Linked DNA regions of Homo sapiens: all the other regions are linked to region 1. The links are contacts of gene promoters, found by promoter capture Hi-C in human tissues and cell types (Jung and others, 2019). All regions are on one chromosome and are shown on one strand. The core of a region is centred on a gene start or on the middle of the fragment in contact, and the rest is flanking DNA. Distances in the headings are between cores, read along the strand shown. Region 1 holds the start of ACOT4 (acyl-CoA thioesterase 4). Region 2 overlaps FAM161B (FAM161 centrosomal protein B). Region 3 overlaps NUMB (NUMB endocytic adaptor protein).

Region 1 (3,395 bases), core at 499-2,998:
TTGTAATCTCAGCACTTTAGGAGGCCAAGGCAGGAGGATTGCTTGAGGCCAGGAGTTCAAGACCAGCCTGGACAATGTAGTGAGACCCCATCTCTACAATCTTTTTTTTTTTTTAATTAGTCAGTGTGGTGGTGTATGCCTGTAGTCCTAGCTACTTGGGAGGCAATGGAGGGAGGATCACTTGAGCCCCAGAGGTCAAGGCTGCAGTGAGGTGTGACCACACCACTGCACTCCAGCGTGGGCAACAGAGACAGACACTGTCTCAAAAAAAAAAAAAAAAAAAAGAAAGAAAGAAAAGAAAAAAGATTGAAACAAAACTTTATGTTCTGTTGCATCAGCCCTCTGGTTTTTAGTGTACTGATATTTCAGATGTCTATGTAGAAAGGGAGGAAAGAAAAAGAAATACCCAGAGATGGTTTTAGGTGAGAAAGGCAGTGGAGTCTGAAGTGTGACCTGTGATAAAGCAGCACATGAAGAAGTGGAGAAGAGACAGTGTGCCTAGAACACTAGAGAAGACGACATGGTAATAGCTTCATTCACTGTCATCATTCTGCCTTAGACAAGTCAGGCTGATGCCTGTAGAAATCTGTAGGGTAGTGATTAATAGCAAAGTGGATAATGTACCTGACGACCTGAACCTGTTTTTTCATCTGCAGAATAACAATACCAACTTCATTGGGATATTATAGAGACTAACTGATAGAATGCAAGTAAAAACCGTAGTACACAGCCTAACAAAAAATCCTTTTTTTTCTTTTTTCTTTTTTTGAGACGGAGTCTCGCTCTGTCACCCAGGCTGGAGTGCAGTGGTGCGATCTCGGCTCACTGCAACCTCCATCTCCCAGGTTCAAGCGATTCTCGTGCCTCAGCCTCCCGAGTGGCTGGGACTACAGGCGTGTGCCACCAGGCTGGACTAATTTTTGTATTTTCGGTAGAGTCAGCGTTTCACCATGCTGGCCAGTCTGGTCTCAAACTCCTGATCTCAAGTGATCCGCCCATCTCGGCCTCCCAAAGTGCTGGGATTACAGGCGTTAGTCACCACGCCCGGTACCAAACCCTCTATTTTGGTAGAGTGGCCACTGACATAGTCAATGTTAGCTTCTCTGATCTTGCTCCAAAACCAAACCAGTGCTAAATCAGCACTGGAAACAAACGGAGACTCAGGCCACTGACGCTCACACCACCCGCCAGCAGCCTGGCTCACCTGGCGGCAGGAAGAGCGTGGCGCGCACCCGGCCCGCTCGCACCGACTGGCGCCGCACCCCTGGCGGGAGGAAGTGGCGCTCGTGCTGCGCCTGGCACAGCAGCCGTCCAGGCTCGGGGTCGTGGCCGTCCAGCACCTCCAACTCCACGACAAAAGGAATCTGTACGTCCCGCTTCAGGAAGCGCCAAAAAGGCTTCTCGGGTTCCAGGGCCCAGAGCAGCCCCATGGGCTCGAGTCCCGCGAAGCTGCCGCCCAGCGCGGGTGCGCGCTCCAGGTCCAGCTCGCCGCGGGCGTCGGCGCAGTAGCGCGCGTGGGCCCGGAAGAGCGCGCCCTTCTCGTCGCGCAGGGACGCGCGCAGCGTAACCCGCTGCTCCGGGGCCAGGCCGCGCACGGCAATGCGCACCGGCTCGTTCCAGCAGCAGCGGCCTGGGGGCTCCAGGATCAGCGTTGCTGACATCTTGGAGCCGGAGCGGGGAATTCAAAGGTCGAGGCCCGAGACCCGTCCAAGATCGTGGCAAGCGCGCCGAATGTCCGGACGGCGTCCGGCGTCCCCTGGTGCCGGAAGCTGCCGGTGGCTGAGCAGTCCCAGAAAGCCCCTGGGACTTCAGACCGGTTAACCCGGCGCTCCGGACTCGTCTGAGGCAAAAGTAGCCAGGCTCCTCTTCAGGGTCGTCTCCTTGGGCCCCGGGGCGCGCAAGGTGTGGCGCCCAACCCACCCCGTAGAAAGCCTCTCTGCCTCACACCACCCTCGGTTGTTGGAATGAAAGTTGTTGGATGATCAATTTGTGGTGAAACCAAAAGCCAATGAGATCAAGCCAAATTCCAGCCTTTCATGGGCTCCATGGAAGGTTTTGTTTTTAACTTTTTTTTTTTTTGAAACAGAGTCTCCTCTGTCGCCCAGGCTGGAGTGCAGTGGCGCTTCGGCTCACTGCAATCTCCGCCTCCTGGGTTCAAGCGATTCTCCTGCCTCAGCCTCCCGAGTACCTGGGATTACAGGCGCGCGCCACCATGCCGCTAATTTTTGTATTTTTAGTAAAGAGGGAGTTACACCATGTTGGCCAGGCTGGTCTTGAACTCCTGACTTCAAGTGATCTTCCCGCCTTGGCCTCCCAAAGTGCTAGGGATTACAGGCGTGAGCCGCTGCGCCCGGCCTGCTTTTTTGTTGTATTTGAGACAGGGTCTCTCTCTGTCATCCAGGCTGCAAGGCGGTGGCTCGATCACAGGTCACTGCAGCCTCCACCTCCCAGGCTCAAGTGATCCTCCTGTCTCAGCCTTCGGAGTAGCTGTGACTACAGACAGCGCACCACCATGCCACGTTAATTTTTAAATGTTTATTTTTAGAGAGGAGGTGTCACCCTGTTTCCCAGGCTGGTCTCGAACTCCTGAGCACAAACTATCCTCCTGCCTCTGTAGTCCCAAAGTGCTAGTGATACGTGACAGCATGCTGGCTGCCCTCGCTCGCTGTCGGCGCCTCCTCGGCCTTGGCGCCCACTCTGGCCGCGCTTGAGGAGCCCTTCAGCCCGCCGCTGCACTGTGGGAGCCCCTTTCTGGGCTGGCCAAGGCCGGAGTCGGCTCCCTCAGCTTACTGGGAGGTGTGGAGGGAGAGGCGCGGGCGGGAACCGGGGCTGCCCGCGGGGCTTGCGGGCCAGCGCGAGTCCCGGGTGGGCGTGGGCTCGGCGGCCCCGCACTTGGAGCGGCCGGCCGGCCCGCAAGCCCCGGGCAGTGAGGGGCTTAGCACCTGGGGCAGCAGCTGCTGTGCTCGATTTCTCAGCGGGCCTTAGCTGCCTCCCCGCGGCGCAGGGCTCGGGACCTGCAGCCCGCCATGCCTGAGCCCCCGCCCCCGCCGTGAGCTTCTGCGCGGTCCGAGCCTCCTCAACGAGCTCCGCTCCCTGCTCCACTAACGCCCAGTCCCATCGACCGCCCAAGGGCTGAGAAGTGCGGGCGCACGGCGCGGGACTGGCAGGCAGCTCCACCTGCGAACCCCGTGCGGCATCCACTGGGTGAAGCCAGCTGGACTCCTGAGTCTGGTGGGGACTTGGAGAATCTTTATGTCTAGCTAAGGGATTGTAAACACACCAATCAGCACCCTGTGTCTAGCTCAGGGTTTGTGAATACACCAATCGGCACTCTGTATCTAGCTAATCTAGTGGGGAGGTGGAGAACTTTTGTGTCTAGCTCAGGGATTGTAAAC
Region 2 (3,395 bases), core at 240-2,739, 350 kb before region 1:
AGCTCCAAATAAGGGGCTCAGGCTTTATTCACTTTTCGGTAGCATGTGCCATGCTCCAGGCACTGTGCCATGGTGAACACACAGACATGGAGTTTGTAGATATGTGAGGAAAACAGATAAAGACAAATACATACAAATGTGGCGAGTTATTTACAAGGATTAAAAGGGGAAGCATGGGAGCATATATCAAAGGGACCTAACCCGGGGATTGGTGAAGCAAGGGAGCAGTTAGGGAAGGTCCCCTGAGAAAGTGGGCCCTGGGGCTGAACTGAAGGAGGGGCGAAGAGGGAGGAGAAGTGGAGCAGGCAGAATGTGGCATGGAGGGGAGAGAAAGCAGAGCATCTGCAAGGGATGGAAAGGTCGAGGGCTGAGAGAAGAGGGAGTGGGAAGGAAGAGGCAGGCATGGGCCAGACATGAGGAGCTTTGCAAGCCACGTTGGCGAGTCTGGACTTCATCCCAAGGGCACAGGGAAGCCACTGAGGGAGTGAGGCAGGGTGGCCCATGATCAGAAATATAGTTCAGAAGGATCCTTCTGATTGCTGTATAGATAATCTGAGAGGGCAGCAAGACTGGAGGGATGTTGAGCCAAGAGGAAGCTATTTCACAATTCAGTAGAGAAATTGTGCAACTGGTTGCAGGGATGAAAAAACGAGGATGGACTGGAGAGAGGTTAAAGAGGAGGAAATGACAGAACTTGTGACTGATGAGAGACACGGAGGAGTCAGTGATGTGGGCAAAGGGCCTGGGCAGCTGGGTGGATGGTAGGGCCTTTCTCTCAGATGGGGAAACCTGGGAGAGGAGCAGGTTACTGGCCCACTTCCTCTGCTTCATCTCTGAAGAAGCAATCATAGAAAGTGCTCAGTAAGTGTAGATGGTCACTGCTTCTGCAGCCTGATTGACACAGGCAGTGGTGTTCTGGATGACATTTATTAACAAGCTCTCCAGAAAAAAAAAAAAGGAAGCTGGTTTGTAATGTTTGTTATTTTCTGTGGCATAATTACTCCTATTCAGGCCATCTGCAGGCATCTCACAGGATGTTAACGTGTCAGAATTCCTGAAAAGTTCCTACTTGCCTCCAGTAACACTTACAGCTAGTGTGTAAAAGAGGGAAAGTTCTCCAACCCTGTAGGTTTCTTGCTTGGTCCTTTCTTACCCATCACCATCCTTTCTCCACAGAAGCTGAGCTCTTCAGGAAAATTCGCATCCAAATGAGAGCCCTGGACATGCTCCAGATGGCCTCTTCCCCTATCGCCTCCTCTAGTAACCGGGCTAACCCACAGCCCCGCACAGCCACCCGAACCCAGCAGGAAAAGCTTGGGTTTCTGCACACTAACTTCAGATTCCAGCCTCGGGTGAATCCTGTGGTCCCTGACTATGAGGGCCTTTACAAGGCCTTCCAGAGAAGAGCAGCCAAAAGAAGAGAAACCCAAGAGGCCACTCGCAACAAGCCCTTCTTGCTGAGGACCGCCAACCTGCGCCACCCTCAGCGGCCCTGTGATGCTGCCACCACCGGAAGGAGGCAGGTGAGAGCCCAGGCAGCTGTGGGAGGGTCAGGGCTGCGGCCTGAAATACAGGGTGGGGCCAGGTCTTCCTGGAAAGCACTTCTCAACAAGGTTTTCCTATCTTTTTTTTAAACACCAGCTCAGTTGTAAGCAGATTCACTTTCCTATAAACTCCAGACCACAGCCCAGCCTGGGCAACAGAGACCCCATCTCTAAAAGAAAAATACAAATATTTGCCACATGTGGTGGTGTGTACCTGTAGTTCCAGCCATTCAGGAGGCTGAGGTGGGAGGACCTTCTGGCTGCAGTGAGCCAAGATGATGCCACTGTACTCCAGCCTAGGCAACAGAGTGAGACCCCATCTAAAAACAACAACAAAAAACAGGCCAGGCGTGGTGGCTCACGCCTTTAATCCCAGCACTTTGAGAGGCCGAGGAGGGCAGATCATCTGAGGTCAGGAGTTCGAGACCAGCACGGCCAACATGGCAAAACCCCATCTCTACTAAAAATACAAAAATTAGCTGGGTGCGGTGGCGGGCACCTGTAATCCCAGCTACTTCAGAGGCTGAGGTAGGAGAATTGCTTGAACCTGGGAGGCGGAGATTGCAGTGAGCTGAGATTGTGCCACCGCAGGCCAGCCTGGACAACAAGAGTGAAAGTTCATCTCAAAAACAGAACACAACAGAAACCATAGGGACACTTCTTTTCCTCCCTTACTGTAGAAGGATTTCACAGAAATAAGTCCAAGCAGGCTTGAGAGGCAAGGAGTTGGGATCAGTTGTTGATGTCTCTATACCAATTCCAAGGAACTCTTCTCATTTGACTAAAAACTTTAGGATTGATATCCAAGTCTTGGCTTGGTTGTGAAACTTGAGATCTCTTTATCCTTGCCTTATTCCCAGGAAAAAAAATGAAGATTCTCATTTTCAGTCCTTCAGTGAAGCTGAATCCTAGTAAAGATAGAAAATGGCTGGGCGCGGTAGTTCACACCTGTAATCCCAGCACTTTGGGAGGCCGACACGGGTGGATCACCTGAGATCAGGAATTCGAGACCAGCCTGACCAACATGGTGAAACCCCGTCTGTACTAAAACTGCAAAAATGTAGCTGGGCATGGTGGCTCACAACCTGTATAGTCCCAGCTACGTGGGAGGCTGAGGCAGGAGAATTGCTTGAACCAGGCAGCTGGAGGTTGCAGTGAGCCGAGATTGCGCCACTGCACTCCAGCCTGGGCAAAAGAGCGAGACGAGACTCTGTCTCAAAAAAAAAAAAAAAAAAAAAAGATAGAAACTAATCACACATGCTGTCCCACCAATACCAACCTTTGTTTCTTCTAGGATTCCCCACAGCCACCAGCTACACCCCTGCCAAGGAGTCGTTCTCTGAGCGGCCTTGCTTCCCTCTCTGCCAACACTCTCCCTGTGCACATCACAGATGCCACCAGGAAGAGGGAATCTGCAGTCAGGTGAGTGGTCAGGCTGCACGAGACCCATGCTCTGATTCTGGCCCCAAATGCTGGAAACCTCCCTGCCAAGGGGCCTCCTTTCCTGTTATCAGAGATACCTCAAGGGGTCAAAGGGAATTTTCTGATCAGGACTGGAACAATTGCGGTTCTCCACACCTGGTGCTTGGAGAACAGCTAGCCATCATTCAGCACATATTCATAGTGGGCTTATTCTGTGCCAGGCACAGTGTTAAGGCTGGAGATCTTAGGGAACCTCCAGTTTATTATCTAGTCTGAAATACAGAAAAGCAAAGAAGCAATGGCCATATTTTTTGAGTAGTGCAATGATGGGGGGTAAAGGGGACTGTGAGGGCACTGGGCAGCCTGGAGCAGGGGGGTCTTGTCTTGTGGAATAGATGTCTAAAGTGAAACTGAAGAACAAGGAAGAGT
Region 3 (3,395 bases), core at 545-3,044, 310 kb after region 1:
TATGACATTCTTTGACACCTAATCAAAGATATATGGTTAAGCTTATGCTTATTTAGACCTTTCTAATGCTACAGTTCCCAAAGTTCTCCTCCCCTAACACACAAGCATTGAAAATCATGAATCATTCTTTAAAAGACTACATATTAGGAATTCATAGGAACTGAGTTTTTAAGATCTTTTTCACAGTCTTAATTTATAAATCACTGAATGAGAATAAAAGATCTAACATTTCTGTCTTAGTAGATATGCTTTGTGACATATAGTACATTACTAAGCCTTTTATCTGTCTGAAAAATGGATCCGAACCCTGCTTCTAACTTATGTTTTAAGAGACACTGGGAAGGAAATGGGTAAAAGGACCTAGAGGGCTTTCGAATTTGTCAGCTCTCTAAACGCAAATTATTTGAAGACATTGCTAAGGTCTTCATTCTCTTTATTTTCTTGAGCTGAAACAGATAAGATAGTCGTTGGTTCATCAGTTGCCCCTGGCAACACTGCCCCATCCCCATCCTCTCCCACCTCTCCTACTTCTGATGCCACGACCTCTCTGGAGATGAACAATCCTCATGCCATCCCACGCCGGCATGCTCCAATTGAACAGCTTGCTCGCCAAGGCTCTTTCCGAGGTTTTCCTGCTCTTAGCCAGAAGATGTCACCCTTTAAACGCCAACTATCCCTACGCATCAATGAGTTGCCTTCCACTATGCAGAGGAAGACTGATTTCCCCATTAAAAATGCAGGTAATGTAGCATCTACCTGACTCACTGGGTACTCGAGCACTGAAGCATTCTCATCACTTCCCATGAAGACACTAATCCCATTAAACTAGGCATTCCTCTTTCCCTGAGGTTCGTTGATAGTTGTATCTTTTGTCATTTCCCATAGTGGGAAAACTAAGGTCCGTGGAGGGGGATGTGAATCCATAATTTCTCTTCAACAAACAGGCAGCAGAGCCATTGTGGAATTTCTAGCCTAAGCCATAAGATTTGTGGTTTGTCCTGATGTAAGTGCATTCACTGCCTTTCAGCCAACCTGCTCCCAAACATCAAGGGTCTCAAGTTTCTATTCTTATTCTGCCATTGGGACCCAGCAGGGAATTAATTAAAGAGGCCTTAGAAACACATAGCATTACCAGCAGAAGAAATGGATATGTGCTCATTGTCCTTCTGGCTGGTTGGCTCCATAAGGAGGAAACTCTAGACAGGTCTTTCGTGTACATCTAAGATCTGTTGTTCATCACAGACAGTGGACTTGTTCACAAGTATTCATTACCTTTCAGAACCGTCTCACAGGCCTTTGTGTGGCCTCTGTACAGCTATGCCAGCCTCTATAGGTCTATCCTCGTCATAAAATCTGTAGCTAAAGTATTAGATCTGGTCAGTGCTTTTGTTGGGCTCTATTTTACTTCCCTCTGAGACATGTCAAGCCATTGCTATAACAAAATATGAGGAAACTGTCTCAATAGGCCATTCCTACTGATGGTATAAAAGTACAGAGAGTTAAGTTCATCTGACAGATGAAACTAGGCCTAAAGAATAGTTGGACTAGATGATTACGGAGGGTCTTTTCAGTTCTCAGCTGAGGTACCTCATTTCAGTTCAGTCTCCTTCTAGGGCAGACAGGGAATAAAAACTATTATTCTCTTTACAGATGAGCAAACAGAGCTTTAGCACACATAATTAGCTTCCTCAGTGATACAGAAGTATCCTAGAGTCAGTATTAAGAATAAAGGCCCTAGCGTCCTACACCTCTGCTCACTTTTTCATGTTATCATAGATCATATGCTTAGTACTGGAGACTTTGGAGAAAAATGAGATTGATGACATTGTCATAGTTTGTTACAGAGAAAAGCACTAAGCATCCACTAGTGCCCAGACTTGAACCCATTTTCCTGACAGAATTACTAAAGGCTCCAGAACCTAATTCAGATCACAGTCTTGAGAACACGTTGGAAGGCATACAGGTTGCAAATGTCTTCTACAAAGATCTGGCTAGCTGAACATCTTGGCACAAAAAGGACAGATCCTCAACAGTGTTATAAGAAGAAGAAATGAAGAAATTTGGGGATTTGTAAGGGAGGAAGATGTGCCTTAGTACATTAATTGTTGACATTTTATACTTTCCCATCTGAAAAGCCAATGAAATTGTGGCCAGTAAATTTTTTGAAACTGGTTTTGTAGCCCTGCCATACAGTTAATTGAGCCTTTTCTTACATAAGCAGGAGATACAGTATAAAGTGCCAGCTTGCATCATACTGTCAAATTTCAGGATTATTCCATTTTTCTGTCTGGAGCCATTTTCTGTTTGCCTTGCAGTGCCAGAAGTAGAAGGGGAGGCAGAGAGCATCAGCTCCCTGTGCTCACAGATCACCAATGCCTTCAGCACACCTGAGGACCCCTTCTCATCTGCTCCGATGACCAAACCAGTGACAGTGGTGGCACCACAATCTCCTACCTTCCAAGGTTGGTGCCCTCTGACCTGCTCAGCTGTTCTCTTTACAACCAGTACTTTTAGTACACTGCTCACTAACTGTAAGTTGGCATCCTGAGCTTCCCAAGGCCTGGTCAGACCCATTAATTTCTCTATTTGATGTCTTAGATTCATTGATTTCTCCATTCGACGATGTCTTTGTGCCCTTCCTGTTTTCTAAGATGTCTGTGTTTGTCATTCTGCATGTGCCCATCTTTCACCCCATTCTATAAGGAATTTCTGTAGTCCCAACCTACTGCCTTATTTCCCACTTGACTGTTAAGGATCAGCATACCCATCCAGTTTCCCAAAAGCAGTAGTCATCAGAATTGGTTCAAAGGTTATGCTTTCTTTAGTGTAGTGGTTCTCAACTGGGGCAAAGTTTGTCTTTCACTGTCTGGAGACATTTTGGGGCTTTACAAGTTGGGGGTTGGGGGTGTTACTGGCTTGTGGTTAGATGCCAAGAATGCCACTAAACATCCTTCAGTGTAGACGACAGCACCCACAACAAAGGATTATCCAGCCCAAAATGTCAGTGGTGCCAATGTTGAGAAGCCCTGGACTCACCTAGTCTCTGCCCTGTCAAAGAGGCTAATAAAGAAAAAGGCACTCCTTTGAGCTCTTTAGTTCATCTTCTATAACAAGTGTCTTAAAATTTGCCTTTGTGGCATTGAAGAGTTAAAAGTTGTTTTCAGAGATACTGACTAAATAGTGGATATTGACTCAGAGGTCAGCAAAGAATTTATGTAACTTAAGTTACAGACTTGTAGAATTTGAGCTGCTATAATTGCTGTTTCTCCATTTCTTTTGAAAGAGAGCTCAGCGGAAGTTTTACTCCAGAGATAGTGCCCTGCTTCTACTGGAAGAACTACACACTTTTTCTCCAAGGGTCTTTTTCTTTTTCTTTTTAATAAACCTTCATAGTC

What was found. Contacts are between HindIII fragments. The study calls those that stand out against the background at their distance.
Region 2: a contact is called between a fragment that was not itself captured here and the fragment with the promoter of ACOT4 in region 1, in 2 of the 25 tissues and cell types used here (dorsolateral prefrontal cortex and spleen).
Region 3: a contact is called between a fragment that was not itself captured here and the fragment with the promoter of ACOT4 in region 1, in 1 of the 25 tissues and cell types used here (aorta).

Annotation. Positions count from the first base shown.
Region 1 is chr14:73,590,226-73,593,620 of GRCh38, reverse strand. It overlaps ACOT4 (acyl-CoA thioesterase 4), which reads right to left and starts at 1,748. Exons shown (of 3, transcript NM_152331.4): 1 at 1,205-1,748. The coding sequence starts at 1,661. It also overlaps a transcript of HEATR4 not described here. RefSeq lists a silencer at 1,134-1,203 and an enhancer at 1,015-1,514. The HindIII fragment of the contact is 17,984 bases long and covers 1-3,395 here.
Region 2 is chr14:73,940,497-73,943,891 of GRCh38, reverse strand. FAM161B (FAM161 centrosomal protein B) reads left to right here. Exons shown (of 9, transcript NM_152445.3): 4 at 1,177-1,523; 5 at 2,839-2,966. Among named protein-coding and RNA genes, the nearest start is that of FAM161B, 7.9 kb to the left of the region's middle. The HindIII fragment of the contact is 9,683 bases long and covers 1-3,395 here.
Region 3 is chr14:73,281,426-73,284,820 of GRCh38, reverse strand. NUMB (NUMB endocytic adaptor protein) reads left to right here. Exons shown (of 13, transcript NM_001005743.2): 10 at 447-740; 11 at 2,316-2,462. Among named protein-coding and RNA genes, the nearest start is that of PAPLN-AS1, 37 kb to the right of the region's middle. The HindIII fragment of the contact is 6,061 bases long and covers 1-3,395 here.